Regions from separate parts of the Homo sapiens genome. Here all the other regions are linked to region 6. Evidence: promoter capture Hi-C in 16 types of primary human blood cells and fetal thymus (Javierre and others, 2016). All regions are on one chromosome and are shown on one strand. The core of a region is centred on a gene start or on the middle of the fragment in contact, and the rest is flanking DNA. Distances in the headings are between cores, read along the strand shown.

What was found. The method cuts DNA at HindIII sites, captures the fragments that hold promoters and counts their contacts. A CHiCAGO score of 5 or more calls a contact.
Region 1: a contact is called between a fragment that was not itself captured here and the fragment with the promoter of ATP11B in region 6, in 1 of 17 cell types (M2 macrophages). The highest score is 6.0, in M2 macrophages.
Region 2: a contact is called between a fragment that was not itself captured here and the fragment with the promoter of ATP11B in region 6, in 1 of 17 cell types (naive CD8 T cells). The highest score is 5.6, in naive CD8 T cells.
Region 3: a contact is called between a fragment that was not itself captured here and the fragment with the promoter of ATP11B in region 6, in 2 of 17 cell types (M0 macrophages and naive CD8 T cells). The highest score is 7.8, in M0 macrophages.
Region 4: a contact is called between a fragment that was not itself captured here and the fragment with the promoter of ATP11B in region 6, in 1 of 17 cell types (M2 macrophages). The highest score is 6.2, in M2 macrophages.
Region 5: a contact is called between a fragment that was not itself captured here and the fragment with the promoter of ATP11B in region 6, in 2 of 17 cell types (M2 macrophages and M0 macrophages). The highest score is 16.4, in M2 macrophages.
Region 7: the fragment with the promoter of ZNF639 here is called in contact with the fragment with the promoter of ATP11B in region 6 in 7 of 17 cell types (activated CD4 T cells, naive CD8 T cells, M2 macrophages and 4 more); the score reaches 9.5 in activated CD4 T cells.

The regions. Positions count from the first base shown.
Region 1 is chr3:179,570,530-179,573,368 of GRCh38, forward strand. All of the region lies in intron 3 of ACTL6A (actin like 6A), which reads left to right. It overlaps LOC124909462 (a long non-coding RNA gene), which reads right to left. Exons shown (of 2, transcript XR_007096181.1): 2 at 994-1,241. Among named protein-coding and RNA genes, the nearest start is that of ACTL6A, 9.0 kb to the left of the region's middle. The HindIII fragment of the contact is 882 bases long and covers 918-1,799 here.
Region 2 is chr3:179,142,871-179,145,570 of GRCh38, forward strand. All of the region lies in intron 1 of PIK3CA-DT (PIK3CA divergent transcript), which reads right to left. Among named protein-coding and RNA genes, the nearest start is that of PIK3CA-DT, 3.8 kb to the right of the region's middle. The HindIII fragment of the contact is 1,329 bases long and covers 785-2,113 here.
Region 3 is chr3:179,592,051-179,594,752 of GRCh38, forward strand. It overlaps MRPL47 (mitochondrial ribosomal protein L47), which reads right to left. Exons shown (of 7, transcript NM_020409.3): 5 at 1,715-1,845; 6 at 594-689. Among named protein-coding and RNA genes, the nearest start is that of MRPL47, 11 kb to the right of the region's middle. The HindIII fragment of the contact is 1,543 bases long and covers 506-2,048 here.
Region 4 is chr3:179,343,247-179,345,946 of GRCh38, forward strand. No RefSeq gene overlaps it. Among named protein-coding and RNA genes, the nearest start is that of MFN1, 3.1 kb to the right of the region's middle. The HindIII fragment of the contact is 2,685 bases long and covers 1-2,663 here.
Region 5 is chr3:179,615,126-179,617,825 of GRCh38, forward strand. NDUFB5 (NADH:ubiquinone oxidoreductase subunit B5) reads left to right here. Exons shown (of 6, transcript NM_002492.4): 3 at 858-924; 4 at 1,858-1,919. Among named protein-coding and RNA genes, the nearest start is that of NDUFB5, 12 kb to the left of the region's middle. The HindIII fragment of the contact is 2,302 bases long and covers 117-2,418 here.
Region 6 is chr3:182,792,076-182,794,775 of GRCh38, forward strand. ATP11B (ATPase phospholipid transporting 11B (putative)) reads left to right here and starts at 1,429. Exons shown (of 30, transcript NM_014616.3): 1 at 1,429-1,711. The coding sequence starts at 1,685. ATP11B-DT (ATP11B divergent transcript) reads right to left here and starts at 1,289. Exons shown (of 3, transcript NR_187316.1): 1 at 1,005-1,289. RefSeq lists a silencer at 1,264-2,013. The HindIII fragment of the contact is 13,212 bases long and covers 1-2,700 here.
Region 7 is chr3:179,321,736-179,324,435 of GRCh38, forward strand. It overlaps ZNF639 (zinc finger protein 639), which reads left to right and starts at 1,296. Exons shown (of 6, transcript NM_001303426.2): 1 at 1,296-1,556. RefSeq lists silencers at 1,026-1,465, 1,496-1,635 and an enhancer at 2,206-2,255. The HindIII fragment of the contact is 4,241 bases long and covers 1-2,391 here.

The DNA of each region.
Region 1 (2,839 bases), core at 109-2,608, 3.2 Mb before region 6:
GAGGAGAGGTATTTGACTCTAGTGTTGGGAGTCAGTGATGGTTTTCACAAAGGAGGTAACATGATGAATCTTGATCAATGAGTAAGAATTAGCTTGGCTGACAAAGCTGGGTAAAGCAAAGGGACCAGCATGTGTGAAGGGATGGAATTGTGAAAGAAACTTATGTGCTTGAAAATGTAATACAATTAAGTATGGTTGCAGCATTGGGCTTATTAGGGTCAGTAGCAGGAAAGGTAGGCAGAGAGCAGTAGCAGGAAAGGTAGGCAGGGAGCAGTCATAAAAGGGCTTGTAAACCATCCCAGGGTTGTATTAAGCTAGTGACTGAAGGATAACCCCAAAGGAATTTAAACAGATGTGATGGTCAGAGTCCAGATGAGAAATGAAAAAGGTTTAAACTATTATATAATGCTGGTAGAGATTCTGAAGGGACTTTCAGGGTAACCAGGAGACAAATGGTACTAAATGATCGAGGGAGTGAAAGCAAGAGAGAAGTTGAGAAAGTTTCCTAGATTTTTGGTTGGGGTAACTCTGAACAGAGAGTACCATGCATTGAGATAGGAATATAAAGGGAAGGAGCAAGTGTTACGGTTTTAAAAGGCATGGTTGGCCATGCGTGGTGGCTCGCGCCTATATAATCCCAGCACTTTGGGAGGCTGAGACTGTGGGTGGATTGCTTGAGTCTAGGAGTTTGAGACCAGCCTGGGCAACATGGCGAAACCCCATCTCTACTAAAAATACAAAAATTTGACAGGTGTGGTGATGCGTACCACCTGTAATTCCAGCTACTTGGGAGGCTGAGGCATGAGAATCACTTGAACCCAGGATGCAGAGGTTGCAGCTGAGATCTCATGACTACACACCAACCTGGGTGACAGAGTGAGACTCTGTCTCAAAAAAAAAAACAAAAAAAAAAAACAAGCTTATCAGGGATAGCCAAAATCACTCTCAGGTTCAATTATTCACCAGCAAGACTCACTCACAGGACTCAGCATATGGTTGTATTCACAGCTAAGATTTATTGTACTGAAGATTCAGATACAAAACAAAATCGACAAAGGGAAAAGGGACAGGGGATGATGAAGTCCAGATACAGGCTTTGGAGAGTCTTCTCACAGTGGAGTCACACAGGATGTGCTTAATCCCTCCAGCAACAAGTTATGATCTGTGTTACCTTCCAGGAGAACTCTGAGGCTCAGTACCCAAGGATTTTACAGAGGGCTGGTTATGTAGGTACCATCTACCTGGCATGTAACAAAATTTTAGATTCTCAGAAGGAAAGCAAGTGTTCAGAACAAACCACATTGTATAAACAGTGTAGGTATAGCGAGCTACCCTTACCATTTAGGGACAAGTTTTATATGAACATAGGGAACTGTTTGCCAGTCATGTTTCCAGACACCAGCTAAGAGTCAGCCTTACAAGCAGGCCTTTCTCAGGCTTGCAGTGTTAACTCTTTCATGTGTAGTAAGTAAATGGGTTCACTGAGTTCAAAGTACTTAGAACATCCAGGTGATAATTCAGTAAACGGGAATAAAAGGTTATAAGAAAGATTTTAAGACATGGAGTTGCATTTTATTACTCTGAAAAAAATTGGAACATGAGAAGAGGATTGAAGATGGAGTTCTAGCAAAAACTTGTTGTATATTTTAACCAATAGAGAATAAAAGGTACCCTTGAAGGAGAAAGAAAGGGAACAATTAGGGATGTAGGAAAAAAAGCAGGGGAAGAACAAGAAAAGAAAAAGTTTCTGGAAGCATAAAATTCCAGTTATTCTCGGTGTTTTCTGCTGTGACATTGAAAGCTTTACACTAAGAAAGAAGTTAAAAAAATCCAGGTGGGCCTGTGGAAATATATAATTAATGACATTTTTTCTTTGGGCTGTGACAGAAAAGTTTGTAAACTCTTGTGTAGGCAATACTGTCATAATTTAGAGAAGTCAGATGAGATTAAAAATGTTAAGTATCCATGAATTTGCCTAGTAGAAGGTCATTAGTGGCTGGGGGCGGTGGCTCACGCCTGTAATCCCAGCACTTTGGAGGCTGAGGTGGGTGGATCACCTGAGGTCAGGAGTTCGAGACCAGCCTGGCCAACATGGTGAAACCCTGTCTCTACTAAAAATGCAAAAATTAGTTGGGTACGGTGGCGGGCACCTGTAATCCCAGCTACTCGGGAGCCTGAGGGAGGAGAATTGCTTGACCCCAGGAGGCGGAGGTTGCAGTGAGCTGAGATTGTGCCATTGCACTCCAGTGTGGGGGACAGAACGAGACTCCATCTCAAAAAAAAGAAAAAAGAAGGTCATTAGTGACTTATGTCAGTAGTTTTAATGGAATGTTTAGGTGGAAGCCAAATTGAAGACAGATGCTCTTCTTTGAATTTTTAACATGTCTTTTAGTCTTTTTCCAAATAGATTGTAAGTTTTTTTGAGTGTCGGGTCTAGACCATACAATTCTTTCTTTTTTTTTTTTTTTTATAAATCCAGCAGTAGTATCATCAGAAGGCCATACAATTCTTCTGTACTTCCTATTATCATTCTGATCACATTCTGGGCCTCTAATAAGTATTTATTGAATTGAATAACATTTACTTCATATTTTAGGTCTGTTAGATTAATTACATTTGGGACAGGTCTGGGGGCTGGAGGGACCAAAAAGAAGTTCTATATATCTAGAAGGCAAAGGTAATCTCTATATAAAGTAATGTGGTATGAAGTTGATCTGTAAAATCAGTAGGTTCTGTATACTAAAGTATTAATTGTTAAGTCATAGAAACAATTTCTCAAAAGATGCTATATTCATCTTCAACTATGCATTATTTCCAAGTTACTAATCTTATATTCTAG
Region 2 (2,700 bases), core at 199-2,698, 3.6 Mb before region 6:
CAAACAGAAGAAATAAAACAATACCTCAGCATATCAGAATCAAACCATTTAAAACCTAAATTTTTAAACTTTTTTTTTTTCTTTTTGAGACGGAGTCTCGCTCTGTCACCCAGGCTGGAGTGCAGTGGCGCAATCCCGGCTCACTGCCAGCTCCGCCTCCCGGGTTCACGCCATTCTCCTGCCTCAACCTCCCGAGTAGCTGGGACTACAGGCGCCCGCCACCACACCCGGCTAATTTTTTGTATTGTTTAGTAGAGACGGGGTTTCACCATGTTAGCCAGGATGGTCTCGATCTCCTGACCTCGTGATCCACCCACCTCGGCCTCCCAACTAAATTTTTAAATCTTGATATAATCCAGAGAAAAAAGAAAAATTACGTATTGGGGGAAACTATTTGAATGACCACAGATGAGACCTGAAAATAGTCTTTTTTATGTTTTTTAAATTAATTTATTTATTTACTTATTGGAGACATGGTTTTGCTCTGTCGCCTAGGCTAGAGTGCAATGACATGCTCACAGCACACTGCAGCCTCAAACTCCTGGGCTCAGCGGATCCTCCCACCTCAGCAACAGCCACCCGAGTAGCTGGGGCTACAGATGCATGCCACTAGGACCGGCTAATTTTTTTGTATTATTTTGTAGAGACGGCGTTTCGCCCTGTTGCCCAGGTTGGTCTCAAACTGCTGGGCTCAAGTGATCCACCCACCTCAGCCTCCCAAAGTGCTGGGATTACAGGCGTGAGCCAACACACCTGGCTGAAAATAGTCTTTTACGAATTTCAAAGCTTTGATTTCTCCATAAGTGCACTCCTGGTAACTTGAGAACATTACACATTTGTCTCCTTTCTGTGGCCAGAATTGTTTTGTATTTCAAGTATGGAAAGGAGCTTTGCCAGAATCCTCCCGTGCTAAGTGTAAGTAGAGCAGTTAGACTTTAACATGGTTGTGTGATAGTAATGACATTCATATCTGACTCTAGGCAAGGCATGGCTGGAATGAAAAACATTGACTGTTAAGTGTTTTAAGGTGAACTTCTCAGATACTAGATCTCTTAGCTCACATAGTGGAATTTTGAGGAAAGTACAGGGTTTGCTCTTCATCTCCTAAGAAATGCAATGATGATTCTTTAAAGTACTGATGGGTCAGGGAGGGGAGAAAACCATTAACCGAGAATTGTATAATCAGCTAAAATATTTTGCAGAAATGAAGGCAAAAGTAAAATATTCTCAAATGAAGGAAAATGAAGGGAATTTGTCACAAGCAGACTTTCTCTAAAAAGAATGTTAAAATTCTTCAGGATAAAGGGAAATTATACCAGAAGGAAAAATGGATTTTCAGGAATGAAGCAAAACATAAATGTAAATGGATACGTAAATATAAAAGATTATTTTTCCTCTTGAGTTCTATATGACTGTTGAAAGCAAAAATTATAAAAACATCTGATGGGGCTTCCATATATATAAATGTAATACATATGCCAACTAATGACATAAAGGTCAGGGAGTGGGGTAGGAGACAGTGGTAAATCTACACGGTTGCAAGGCTTCTTTCTACATTTTACTTGAAGTGGTGTAATAGTAATACTAAGTAGACCGCAAAACTTTAGGTATGTATATTATAATCCATAGAATTACCAAAAAATTACCAAGAAATATATTAAAACTACAATATAGAAATTAAAATGGAATATTAAAAATTTTTCAAATAATCCACAAGAAAGCAGGAAAGTAGAAACATAAAAACAAAAGTATAGAGGAAAAACAGAAAACAAATAATAAAATGGCAAGCCTAAATCCATATAATTACATTAAATGTAAATTAAACACAGCAATTAAAACACAGAAATTGTCAGATTGGAATTTTTAAAAAGAGATCTAATACGTGTTGTCTACGAGTAACTCACTTTAAATATAAAAATAGATATAAAAAAGATGGGAAAAAATACCATGGAAAAATTAATCAAAAAAAGCTGGACTGGCTGTATTAATATCAGACAAAGTAGATTTCAGAACAAAGATATTACTAGGAATAAAGAGAGATAGTACAGATTGATTAAAAAGAGTCAATGTATCAAAACACAAGAGTTCTAAATGTGTATACATCTAACAACAAAGCTTCAAAACACACAAAGTAAAAATACACAGAAGTGAAATGAGAAATAAAGAAATCCACAATTATATTTTGAAACATCAATGCTAACAAAATCATCAACTTGGTAAGAAACTACATTCTGCCCAACAATAGCAAACAAAATATTCTTTCATAAGTGCACATGGGACATTCACCAAGATATTCTGGGGCAACACAAATCTTAACTTGAAAAGAACTGAAATCTTAAAAGTACGTGTGTGTATGTGTGTGTGGGTGTATGGTTTTTTTTTTTTTAAGATGGAGTCTCGGTCAGGCGTGGTGGCTCACACCTGTAATCTCAGCACTTTGGGAGGCCAAGGCGGGCGGATCATGAGGTCAGGAGTTCAAGACCAGCCTGACCAATATGGTGAAACCCCGTCTCTACTAAAAATACAAAAATTAGCCGGGCGTGGTGGCACGTGCCTGTAGTCCCAGCTACTCGGAAGGCTGAGGCAGGAGAATCACTTGAACCTGGGAGGCAGAGGTTGCAGTGAGCCAAGATCGCGCCACTGCACTCCAGCCTGGGTGACAGAGCGAGACTCCATCTCAAAAAAAAAAAAAAAAAAAAA
Region 3 (2,702 bases), core at 27-2,526, 3.2 Mb before region 6:
TCAAACTCCTGACCTCAAGTAATCTGCCTGCCTTGGCCTCCCAAAGTGCTGGGATTACAGGCATGAGCCAACACGCTTGGCTGACTGTGGCTATTTCTGAAGGTGAGCTTATATATGACTTCAATTTTCTTTTTTACCTATTTTGTTTGTTTGTTTGTTTTTGAGACGGAGTCTCACTCTGTCACCCAGGCTAGAGTGCAGTGGCGCGATCTCTGCTCACTGCAAGCTCTGCCTCCCGGGTTCACGCCATTCTCCTGCCTCAGCCTCCCAAGTAGCTGGGACTACAGGTGCCCACCACCATGTCCGTCTAATTTTTTGTATATTTAGTAGAGACGGGGTTTCACCATGTTAGCCGGGATGGTCTCGATCGCCTGACCTCGTGATCCACCCACCTCGGCCTCCCAAAGTGCTGGGATTACAGGTGTGAGCCACCGCACCCAGCCTGACTTTCCTATTTTTTATAATACTTATGTAATAACAGAAATTAAAATTTAAAGACAGCTTAAGCTTTCTTTATGTCATCTGGTATGATATATGACCATATGTCATCTGGTATAAAGATAATATGTTTTATTAAAGGTGCTTGTGCTCACCTGAGAAAATGGTCCACATAAGGCAAGGCAAAGAATCGTTTCCTATTGTATCTTTTATTTAGGTGCCAAGGTATAACCCACTGCTTGAACTTGTGCCTGCCAATAAAGCAAAAAGTTATTTGCCTTAAAGAAAACATTTAATACATTTTCACTTTCCTAATTTACCTCAAAAGGGTTAGTCCAAATAAAAATTAGTAGAAAATAAAACATAAACATTTTTAGTGAGATGCTTTGGCAATTTCTCTTTTCTGTGTTGGACTTAAACCCCATTAAAAGAACCTACCGAATGAGTTATGAGTTAAGTGGTATAATGTCAAGAGTACAGGGAAGGTCTCTAACCAAAATGCCTTCCCCATTCTGCCTACGTTTAAAAGTCTAATGATATTTCATCTTGGTTGTTCAGCCCAAAGGTAAATAAACCTCTTTCTGAGGGGAGGTTTATTTACCTTTGGGTTGAACAGCCTCCCCACCGAAGGAGGTTTATTTACACCAGGTCTTCTCAGTTATTTACACCTCAGCATGAAGGCTGATTACCAGATCCTTTCCCAAAGGCTGACAAGACTCTGGGATTTGAATGTAGGAGAAACAAGGAGGTATAAAAAATAAACTACTTCATAATTTGCCCTAGGGCTTATCCTGATGGCAGTGGGAGCAAACTGAAACTGGTTCATGTGACATTCCCTGAGACTTTAAAAAAAATAGTTCCAGGTTCTCAATGTGCAAAGAGGGCAGGTGTGTGTCCTGAAGTTAGCTTCATGGATTTTATACCTTCTGAAGTGATATGTGTACATGTACATTTTTCTGAGGAAACGATCCCTAACTTTCATCAAATTCTCAAAAGGCCTTGTGATTCATATAAGACTAAGAACCACTACAATAAAGACTTATAGGTAACTGAATCATAGGAATGGGATGTCTGGGCTGGTTTTACCAGATAAAGCTACCTTCATTCATATCCTCCTTCATTAAAGTCCAAAGGGGTGTGGGGCCTCTTCTTTTATTAGACATATCTCTAATATTATCTCATATGGTACAAATTTTTTTTTAAAAGATATTGGGCAGGGGAATGAGGCATGGATTTCCACTCTCATCTTAGAAGAGCCACAGTGTTAACTACATACCAGATGATTCTTCCAAAGATGTCTCTTCTCCAAGCACCAGGTCTAGCTCTTTCTTGACCAGTCTGAAGAAGCCTTAGGGCATCTTCTCTTTCCTGGACAACTTTATCTAATGCATCCATGGAATCTACTACCTGAAAAGAGAATAGAAAGATACAATTTCAACAATCATCTACTACAAAATTCCCAAAAAAGAGAATGTATAAACACTTCTGCTACAGAAAACTTATGAATATTTATGCCAAAGAACCACTCTGTTAAGTATTTCCTAAAAATCTTTTTGGCACAAGTATGTCTACATGGGTGTCTAGATTACCACTTTCTGTATTTTTTAAAAAGCTTACAGTTTTAACTACAAATATATTTCCATTAGTTTTGTTTGGAGTGAGATACACTTACATAGATTCCTTTTGGAGACCCAATTTGATTCATGTTATTTCAAAACTCAATGAGCTAATAAGAAGTGATAATAATTTGCTATTTTCATTATATTAAAAAAGACATGTTCTGGTCTCAACTAATCACTGTGTCCTTGACATGCAGACACAGATATTGTGGCCTGCTTGGTAGCTGTTGCTACTACAGGGAAAGGAATAGCAGTCCATCCAGATATGAATCTCCAAAGATTTATCAAGATGCAAGATGATACTATTAAACTTCTATTTATTTTTACCTCTTTAAGATTTCTATTGTTTTATAATGTATATATTGGCAGGGTTTTATACATATATATATTTTTTAGACAGAGTCTTGCTCTGTCACTCAGGCTAGAGCGCAGTGGCGTGATCTTGGCTCATTGCAACCTCCACCTTCCAGGTTCAAGCAATTCTCCTGCCTCAGCCTCCTGAGCAGCTGGGATTACAGGCACCTGCCACCACACCCGGCTAATTTTTTGTATTTTTATTAGAGATGGGGTTTCACCATGTTGGCCAGGCTGGTCTCAAACTCCTGGCCCCAGGTGATCTGCCCACCTTGGCCTCCCAAAGTGCTG
Region 4 (2,700 bases), core at 71-2,570, 3.4 Mb before region 6:
ACACAAATTTGTAAACTTTCTTAAAATGTTATGAGATTTATTTGCAATTTTTTGTTTTGTTTTGTTTTCGAGCTCATCAGCTATTGTTAGTGTATTTTATGTGTGACCAAAGACAATGCTTCGTCCAGTGTGGCCCAGGGAAGCCAAAAGATTGGACACCCCCTTCCTTAAAAACTTTTTTTTTTTTTAACCTTAAAAACTTCCATTTTTACAGGCTGGGCGTGGTGGCTCACGCCTGTAATTCCAACACTTTGGGAGGCTGAGAGGCAGGTGGATCACCTGAGGTCAGGAGTTCGAGACCAGCCTGGCCAGCATGGTGAAACCCTGTCTCTACACAAATAGAAAAATTAGCCAAGCATGGTGGCGGATGCCTGTAATCCCAGCTACTTGGGAGGCTGAGGCAGGAGAATCACTTGAATCCGGGAGGTGGAGGTTTCAGTGAGCCTAGATCGTGCCATTGCACTCCAGCCTGGGCAACTGAGCGAGACTCCTCAAAAAAACAAAACAAAACAAAAAGACTATTTTACTATGCTTCTATTTAACTAACAGCTATGGAATATCTACTATCAAGCCAAGTGCTCAGGAATACAAAGATAAACTATGGTTCTTGACCTCAAAGAGATTTACCATATAATGCAGGAAACTGTCACCTTTCTGAACTACAATTCAATTAAATATCAAATTGACTTTCATGTATCCAAGTATTTGCCTTTTGTATAATGCTACCTACCATACACGTTCTTGTCAGTTTTTTATATACTTGTGATTCAGTACTTCCAAAATATATGCAGAATGACTAAAGTTTATACTCCCATCAGCAAGATCATGTTTCCGCACAGGCTTATCAACAATATCATACAACTTTTAAATTTCCTGTAAATCTTAAGGTCATAAAGTAGTACATTATTATTGTTTAAATTTGCATAATCTGATTACTAACAAGGTTGAGACTATCTAATATGCTTATTAGTCATTTTAACTTTCATTTTGTGAACTGCTTCTCCCTATCCTTTGTCTGCTTTTCTGTTGGGTTTTCTGCTCTATTTTCCGAAGTTCTTTATTTTTAACTATTGATTTTTGTTGGCAATATATACTGCAAAAAATAGATTTCCTATGTGTCTGTTATGGATGACTTTTTTGAACAGAAATCCTTAAATTTAATGTAATAGATTCATCACATTTTCCCTTTACATTGTACCTCCTGTCTGTTAATTTTACAAAATTCTCTCCAACTAAAATGTCCCCAAATTATTTTCCTACGTTTTTTCCTAATTTTCTGGTTTTACTTTTCTTTTTTTTTTTTTTTTGAGACGGAGTCTTGCTCTGTCGCCCCGGTTGGAGTGCAGTGGTGAGATCTCGGCTCACTGCAAGCTCCGCCTCCGGCATTCACGCCATTCTCCTGCCTCAGCCTCCCGAGTAGCTGGGACTACAGGCGCCCGCCACCACAACCGACTAATTTTTTTGTATTTTTAGTAGAGACGAGGTTTCACCGGATTAGCCAGGATGGTCTCGATCTCCTCACCTCGTGATCCGCCCGCCTCGGCCTCCCAAAGTACTGGGATTACAGGCTTGAGCCACCGCGCCCGGCCTGGTTTTACTTTTCATGTTCAGGTCTTATACCCATCTGAATTTGTATATAGATATGATTCAAACTTTATTTTTGTTAATTAAATTGAACCAATTTCTCCAATGTGATAAAATAATTTATCTTACCCAGTGATTCATAATACCAATTTTATCATATACCAACTCCCCATGGACATAATTAGCATGTAAATCTGTGTCTTACACAATTACATTCCATCGTTTGTTCCTCCAAGAGTATCACATACTTTAATAGTAACAACATGCTTTAAATATTAAGAGTTGGGTAAGTATAGGCAGAGAACAAGGGAAATAAAGAGAAATGGTTGATAATTTAAAAAATAATAAATATTAGAGCTTTGCTTATAGCAAATAAAAAATAAATGTTAGGACTTATTATAAATATTAAACTTTAGCAAGTACTTCTTCTGCATGTATTGAGATAAATGTGGGTTTCCTCCTTTGGTCTGTCAGTATTATGGATTATATTGATTTCTGTTTGATGATTTCTGTATTCCTAGGAAAACCCTACTTGGATAAAAAAATAATTCTAATACAACGTTGGCCTCAGGTAGCTAATATTTCCTATGTTTGCCTCTGTAGTCCATAAGTGTGAATTTTTTTTTTTTTTTTTTCTGGAGACTGAGTCTTGCTCTTTCGCCCAGGCTGGAGTGCAGTAGCGTGATGTTGGCTCACTGAAACCTCCGCCTCCCGGATTCAAGTGATTCTCCTGCCTCTCCCTCTGGAGTAGCTGAGACTACAGGCACCTGCCACCACGCCTGGCTAATTTTTGTGTTTTTTATTAGAGACAAGGTTTCACCATATTGGACAGGCTGGTCTCGAACTCCTGACCTCATGATCCACACGCCTCATGATCCAAACTGCTGGGATTACAGGCGTGAGCCATCGCACCCGGCAAGATTAATCTTTTCGTTAAACATGTAATAGAAAGTTACCCCGAAAATCATCTAGACCTGGCTAGTTTTGAATATGTGGGAAACTTAGCCTATTCGAGTTTTCTATTTTTTCTCGGTCTAATTTTGGTATTTGATGTTTTCCCAGATTTTATACTTCATCTAAGCTTTTCAATTTGTTGGCATTTATATATATATCTAT
Region 5 (2,700 bases), core at 18-2,517, 3.2 Mb before region 6:
AGAAAACATCTTTCATTTTATGAAATATTTTATTTTGTAAATTTATATTTCTTTCTGTAGAAGATACTGAGACTGTAAAGTCTGATTTGTTATTGAATTTCTCTTTAAATTAGTGAAGCTTTCCTTCTTCACAAAAGGATTTACACTAAATGGAGGTAAAACTTGAACCATTCCTTTCTTCTGAAGATTATGGCGTTTCGAAATAGAATCTGTGTTCCTATAACTAAAATATTCTTTAAATTACCAAAGAACTTGTTGAAAGACTTGCTTAAATAAAGGAGCTACATTATTTTGGGATATGATTTTATATTTATATGTTGTTCAGGAACATTTATTTCAGAGAGTAACAGGGATCTATAGTGCAATCTTAATTTAGCAATAATATAATTACATTGCTTATTTAGAATGCTGACTATATTTCTGTCTCAAGGCTCTATACGAACAAAGTAGAGGCTTAGAAAATGGGAGATTGTCTGGACCATCTGCCACGGTAGATAAAGCTCTGAATCATCATTTGAGTACTGACCTTAAAACTTTCTCTTGCCCTTCCGTTGTGTTTAATGACCTTTTTCATCTCCTTGGTTGAGCCCTTACTTTTCTTGTTATGACCAGCTCAAATCCTATTTAGTGGTAGAAATCACCCTGATGCTTTTAGACTTTTGTTCTTAACATATTATTTTCTTTCATGGCATTGCTTTACCAAAAAGTAAAATCACAGAAATCAATAATTTGGTACTGTATGCCCAATTTGGCAAGTTTATTTTATAAGAAATATGAGGAAATCATATCATGAGGATGATTTGTGTGTGGGGAGAGTTACGAAATGGTCATGAGAAACACTTTTTTTTTTATCTTAGAGATTCTACATTGCATTGACTGGGATTCCAGTAGCAATTTTCATAACTCTGGTGAATGTATTCATTGGTAAGTCACTTCCATCCCCTGCCAGCACCACCAGATTGGAAAAATTTTTAAACATATGTACATTAATATAAAAAAGAAATTATGGATATTGTAATGAAAAGCTCTTTAAATAATTAAGCATAAGCATGGCAGTTTATCTTAAAATAACCAAATCTCAATCTGAACTAAGAATTTTTTAATCCATCCTAGAACATATAAAACTATAATCCTCGGCCAGGCACAGTGGCTCACGCCTGTAATCCCAGCACTTTGGGAGGCCGAGGCGGGCAGATCATGAGGTCAGGGGTTCGAGACCAGCCTGGCTGACATAGTGAAACCCCGTCTCTACTAAAAATACAAAAAACTAGCTGGGCGTGGTGGCAGGCGCCTGTAATCCCAGCTACTCGGGAGGCTGAGGCAGGAGAATGGCTTGAACCCAGGAGGTGGAGGTTGCAGTGAGCTGAGATGGCGCCATCGCACTCCAGCCCGGGCAACAGAGTGAGACTCTGTCCCCCCCCCAAAAAAAAACTATAATCCTCTTACAAAGACTGAAAGTGTCAATGACAGTAAACATTAGATTTTCGTGGGAAATTTTGTTCAAAGTACTTCTAACACCTTGAATCCTAAAATGTTTTGTATCATAGGTATAGGGAAGACCAGAAGGAATAATATGTCTTTTATTATATCTTGTTACAGTATAGAAAAACAAAATGAGAAACTCATGGAATACCTATAAATAATGCCTTACACAGAGAGATGTCTAAAAATGTCTAACAAATGAATTGATTTTCAACCAGATTAAAGTGAATTAAAAATACTACATATCTTCATTGGTACAAATTTTTTAAAGAATCCTTTAAAACCACAAGAAGTTGGTTTCTTACTTTAATGGTGAATAATTAATTTTATAAACTCCTCATGCTAAAGTTAAACATAACCATTTTTTCTTATTAGGTCAAGCTGAACTAGCAGAAATTCCAGAAGGCTATGTCCCAGAACACTGGGAATATTATAAGGTTTGTATAGGACATTGACAATTACATACTGTTACATGCCTTGTCAACGCACTAGTTAATGTCTTAATTCAGCAATTATGATATAGTCAGGTTTTTTGTTTTGTTTTTTTTGAGACAGCATCTCGCTCTGTTGCCCAGGCTGGAGTGCAGTGGCGCGATTTCAGCTCACTGCAACTTCTGCCTCCCGCATTCAAGCGATTCTCATGCCTCAGTCTCCCACGTCGCTGGGATCACAGGTGTGTGCTGCCACTCCTGGCTAATTTTTGTATTTTTAGTAGAGACAGGATTTCACCATGTTGGCCAGGCTTTTCTGGAACTCCTGGCCTCAAGTGATCCACCCACCTCAGCCTCCCAAAGTCCTGGGATTAAATGTGTGAGCCACTGTGACCAGCCATGATAGAGTTTTATATTTCATTTTTTATATCAAGCAGATACATTTTTTTGCATACTTTTTATAAACAACGAATTTTGGTACTTCATTTTTAAAAAAATCATTTTAAGCTTTACAATTTTTTAAAGAATGATTGCAGTGTGTTCTCAGCCTAACAGAGTAACATAATTTATCCTAAGTTCAATGCCTTAGGAGAGACTTCACCAATGTTAATGCTAGCTGTCATTTATTGAGCACCTACTATGTAACAGGTACTGTGCTGAGTGTTTTACAAATATTTATTATTTCATCCCATGTAAAATGTACTATTATTATTCCCTCTTTGTAGATGAAGAAAGTGAGGCTAAAAGAGTTAAGTGACCTGTCTAGATGGGGTCACTATTTCAACCC
Region 6 (2,700 bases), core at 179-2,678:
AAATATCCCCAAAGAAAGATTCTATTTGTGGTGCTGGATAAGCATTATATAGTAAGAAATGTCTACTGAAACTAGAAGATTGAGGATGCATATTCAACGACCTGCCTAGTCATGCTAATCTCATTTAGATTTGTTCTTGCTTAATTTTTTTTTTTTTTTTTTTTTTTTGAGACGGAGTCTCCTTCTGCCGCCCAGGCTGGAGTGCAGTGGCGCCATCTCGGCTCACTGCAAGCTCTGCCTCCCGGGTTCACGTCATTCTCCTGCCTCAGCCTCCCGAGTAGCTGGGACTACAGGCGACCGCCACCACGCTCGGCTAATGTTTTGTATTTTTTAGTAGAGATGGGGTTTCGCCATGTTAGCCAGGAAGGTCTCGATCTCCTGACCTCGTGATCCACCCGCCTCGGCCTCCCAAAGTGCTGGGATTACATGGGATTACAGGCGTGAGCCACCGCGCCCGGCCGCTTAATTTTTTTTTTTTTAACCACAAACGTCTGTCGGTGAAGTGTGCTTTAATTCAGCAAAAATACAGCATTCAATACATATACATAACACAATATGTATACGGGGCTGCTTTTAAACAACGCCAAACCTTTAAGTCAAAGCCTTGTTCCAGTTGCTTGTATATTCCTTCTGAGCTTGTCATCCACACACTTTTTTAACCTAGGTCAAGTTACTGCTACGGGTGTTTTTGATTGCAGAAGTTTGGCAGTTAGCAGTAAAGAACTACCTTTTTATACAAATTATCTTCCCCTGAACCTGTCCAATTTAGCACACGGCAAGACAGAATATCTCATCCATTCGCCTAGAAACACGGGTCCAGGCTGTACCAGGCTCAGGGGACTTGCAACGCTTTCGAATCACTTAATGGGTGTGATCAAGATTTCCCTAGCCCCGTCTCAGCCATTTGCTAAAGAAGAGGCCTGACTTGTGTTGAGACGAAAGCTCTTACAGCTTGATGGAACCCAAACTGGGACTTCTGGGGGGATTAACTTTCAGTCACATACGTTCAGGACTGTGCGTATGCGTGTCGGGAGACGCGTGAACCAAAGAAGCCACAGAGCCCGAAAAAGACCTGCAACAGGAGGTAGAGACCGAGGAATCGGCCCCAAGCTGCAGACTCCGGAGATGGCCAGACCCACAGACACGACTTAATCCCACTCCCAGAACGGGGAGGAGGGTGGCAGTGGACAGAAACAGCGTTCGAGAACCCGGCACCTTTCCACGCTCGCTTCTTCCCGGACCCACAACACAGAAACCCCCCAACTCGGAACGGCGGCGGGGCGCGCCAGGCCCCCCTCGGTCCGCGCACCCCCTTTCGTCACGTCCGGGGGCGGGCCGGGGCGCCGGGGGCGGTCCCGGGTGGAGCCGGGGGGCCGGGCGGGGCGGGGCGGGGGTGGGGTTGCGGGGGTGCTTTGGGTGACAACGGTCAATAATGAAGGTGGCTGCGGCGCGGCGGCAGGCTCAGCTGCGCCGGGCGGGGGCGGCGCCGGGGCCGCGCCTGTAGGACTCGGGGCCGACGCCGCGGGATGGGGACGCGGCGCGGGGAGTGAGGCAGTGGCGGCGGCGGCGGTAAGCGGAACTTCGGCCCGAGGGGCTCGCCCGCTCCCGCCTCTGTCTTGTCGGCCTCCACCTGCAGCCCCGCGGCCCCCGCGCCCCGCGGGACCCGGACGGCGACGACGGGGGAATGTGGCGCTGGATCCGGCAGCAGCTGGTAGGTGCCCCCGCCCCTCCACCTCCATTCGTCCGCCCCCGCGGGGCCTCTCGGCCCGGGGTGGCGGGGAAAGGCCGGCGGCGCGGAGCCGGGAGGCCAGGGCGTGGGCGCCCGGCTAGGCCGCAGCGGAGACGGGCGCGGGGCCCAGAGCCGGAGAAGCCCCGTGCGGCTCCCGGGCTCGTCTCGCCTCCAAGCCCGGGCCGCCGAGGCTGGCGCCGAGCGGCCGGAGGCGGCCGCTTCTAGCCGGCGCTTCTCCGTTACTTCTTCCCCCTTGCCGCTCCGGGGCTGCTGTGGCCAGAGGCGGGAGTCCCGAGCGGGGTGGCGGTGCCCCCAGAGGAAACAGGGCGAGGGAGCTGAGCGAGAGTAGGTCTTGGGGAGATGAGAGAGGCGTGCTCTTCCTGCCTCGAACAATTTGGGACGTGTTTGGGTGAAGGGGAAGCGAAGAACCTGTCTTCTGCCCCCACTCGTCACGGACTTCTGGAAGCGTGTCACGATCCAGAGCTGTGTTGATTCCCGAGGAGGAGGCTGTCGTAGGTGTCTAGCCCCCTCAGCGAGAGACGTTTCTCCCCAGGACCTGGAAAGGGGAAAGACTGTGCCAGCTGCCGGTCTAGCTTCGGAAACGATACGTATTGTACGATAGTTACGAACGATACGTACTGTCGTTTCCTTCCTACCTCGTCCTCACCCCACCCCGAGTGAAACTTTTCGAGTGTGAACCTTACTTTTTTCCCGTTCTCCTCAAGGCAGTTTGAACGACACAGGTTTGGAAGGAATAGTTAACTCTCCAGTATTATTGGAACATCTGGACACCACCAACAAAAAATCTTAGAAAAGGGTCATTTAAGGCCTATAAAAAGTGCCACCTTTCCCAGAATTAATTCAGAGAGAAAAATCTTATCTGCCTCCTGGCAGCTACAGCGCAGAAAGTACAGCATTAAGGCAGCTGTGACAATTAGGACAGAAATTGCCCCTGGCTGAAGAAGCCTAAC
Region 7 (2,700 bases), core at 46-2,545, 3.5 Mb before region 6:
GTAAGGCAAAATGGTAAGATGGTGGCATGACACCCCCTTGTGGTTTCCACCGATTCCCGGTTCTGTGCTAGATACTAACTATTCTAGGATTTAAAAATGTCTCTACATTTCTTCGAACTTTAATTCGGGCCATACTAGCATTCGTGAGCATTTATTTGAGCTGAGTACGCACATAAAACTTAGGAGGTCATAAAAACTGAGCCTCACAAACAAGTAGTGTCTCTTTCAAATATAGCTTTATCTCCTGGGGGATGGTGAAGGGATCAGAGTAAAGTCTGTGATTATTACTTTCCAGCGATTGATTGGTTGATTGGCATGTGGTTGTCAGAAAAAGCAGTGGACGTGAACAAAGAGACATCATTGCAGCCCTAACTATCCGAGTGACCTTGGGTACCTGATAATCCACATGGCTCTCAGTCATCCTCTTAACCGTTTGAACCTCAGGGGTTTAGGCTACCAAAATGAATTAAGACCCAGTCTTTAGCTTCTCACACATTTACTTTTCCATTTTGTAAAATGTGACTAAAAACCTCAACTCATTGTCAAAAGGACTGAATTAAACATATCACCACACTTGCACAGAGATCATTTATGGAACCATGTTCACAAATTTATTTATGCTCGTGTAATTTAATCATTTCTACAGCTGCTCAAAGAAAGTCAAAGTCGAGAAAGGACTTAAATCGTCGAGTCCAGTCCCCCTTAACTCCTCATTCATTCCACTATTTCTCGAGCCAAGGAATCGGGTGAAACTCAACAACGACTCGCAGTCTTCAGGTTTCACCCTCTTGCCCTGAGGGCAGCATCCTAGCCCTAGGTGGTTCTCTGGTGTGGCCTCAGTAAAACCGTGACGAGGTCCTCGGCCTCTCTGTCCCCAACAGGCGGCTGGCACACTTCGGGGTCTGAGATGCCATCTGCCTTGCCTAACCTGGGCAAGACCACTCGCGTCCTTTCCCTTGAGGAGCAGCGTGGGAAAGGTGCCGCTGCGCGCCACGTTTCTCCCAGTTCCCCAGGGCTTGAAGGGGCGGTGGAGGCGGGCGGGATAAATTCGCTGGCCGCCTGGCGTGGAGTAATCCTAGAGGGTGGGATCGCCCTCGGGGCTCGGGAGGGGCTCTTCCCCGCCCAGAAGGAGACTGCGGCGGCGCAAGGCCTCCGGCAGGGGGCGCGGGCCGCTGGGCCTCCCCCGGGGCTGCGGGCCGGTGGTCCCTCCCAGGCCGCGTGTGCGGTGCGTTCGCGCAGCCCGCTCCCTGCCCCCACCTCACCTCGTCACCTCCCCGCCCTCTCGGCGGGCCCCTGAGGTGCGCGGCGCAGGCGCGGAGCGTGGCGGCCAGGGCAGTGCGGCCGCGGAGCCTAGGCCAGGGGCCTGGCGCTCAGGGCGTGGGGCGCGCGGGGAGGGAGAGGGGTCGGCCCAGCACAGCGTCCGGGAGCGCTAGGGCCGGAGCAGCGCTGCCCGCCGCCGTGCGTCCGCGGGAAGGACCGCGCGGCCCCTCCGCCTGCGCTCTCGGCCGCCGCCGCCTCTGCGTGGGCCGGCCGGGAGGGCCTCGGGGGACTGACTGGTGAGTGTGAGGGAGGAGCGGGTGGGTCGGGCGCTGGACTGCTCCAGGGGACGCGGGCGTGCGGGCGCATCTTCTAACGGGAGAGGGCGGGAGAGACCGGAGCTCCCTTTATACGGAAACTCTGCCTTCGTTATATGGCGGGATGGCGTTCCCCTCCCCCATCCCGAAGGCAGTTCCACCCCCTGCGCAGGACGCCTTGGCCGGGCTCCCCTCGGCCCCCTGCTGCCGTTGTCTTTACGGAACCTTTGGTGTCGGGGCTTGGAAGTCTCCTTGGCGCCGGCTTCTGGGCCCGGGCGAAGCTGGTGCGTGGCGCCGGGGTGGAGGCGGCTAAGTCCCAGGGACTTCTGCCCTGCGCCTCCGACGGGCATTTGTCTGGCTGCGTCCGGGCTCGGGACGATCCTGGGTCCTCGCTGGCGCTGCGGCCCTGCCCGGCGGCTTCGTGACCTCCGGCGGCGAATCCCCGGGCTCGCGCAACGAGTTGTAGCCGCGGAGAGCAGGCGTCGATGCTGGCGCCCAAAGCCTCCAGCCTGAGAGTCGCCTCACTCGTGTGACGGTGCTTAGAAACCCCCTTTTTTGGTTTTGTCTTTAAGTACTGTCTAGGGAAACGAATCATTTGAAGCAGTTTATGCCTTTTTTGTTTTTTTCGAAGAGAAAGATTTATGCCGGACTGAAAAATAGCGAATCAAGTATTTAGTGACCGTGTGATATTGCAGTAAAGACTGCCTCCACGTTGGACATGTAGTGGATTCTAGTTCAGGCTCTCCTGCAACATGTTTTTGTTTCAATTCTTTTACAATTTAAAGCATATGCTTATTTTAATGAGAACGAAAAAGAAAGCTTAACTCTTTTTAAACTCGTTAAAAATGGAGTTATTTACTGTAAAGACGTCTTACAGCAATTAGGAAGAATATACATTGCATGAAAGGCCTTTTGAAACGTTTATCTATTTGATGATTGCTGACTGCCTGTTGTATGTATTCTATTTTGTGCATAGACTTTCTTGTTGGTTGAAAAAAATGACAGGTGGAAAGATGTTGGTTTCTAGGTGATATAAAAAATTTTTAAACATTTTTCTGATTTTTCTGCAGTGACACGTGTTACATATGTCGTTTGTATTTCAGAGGGAGGGGGGACTGTGATAGGT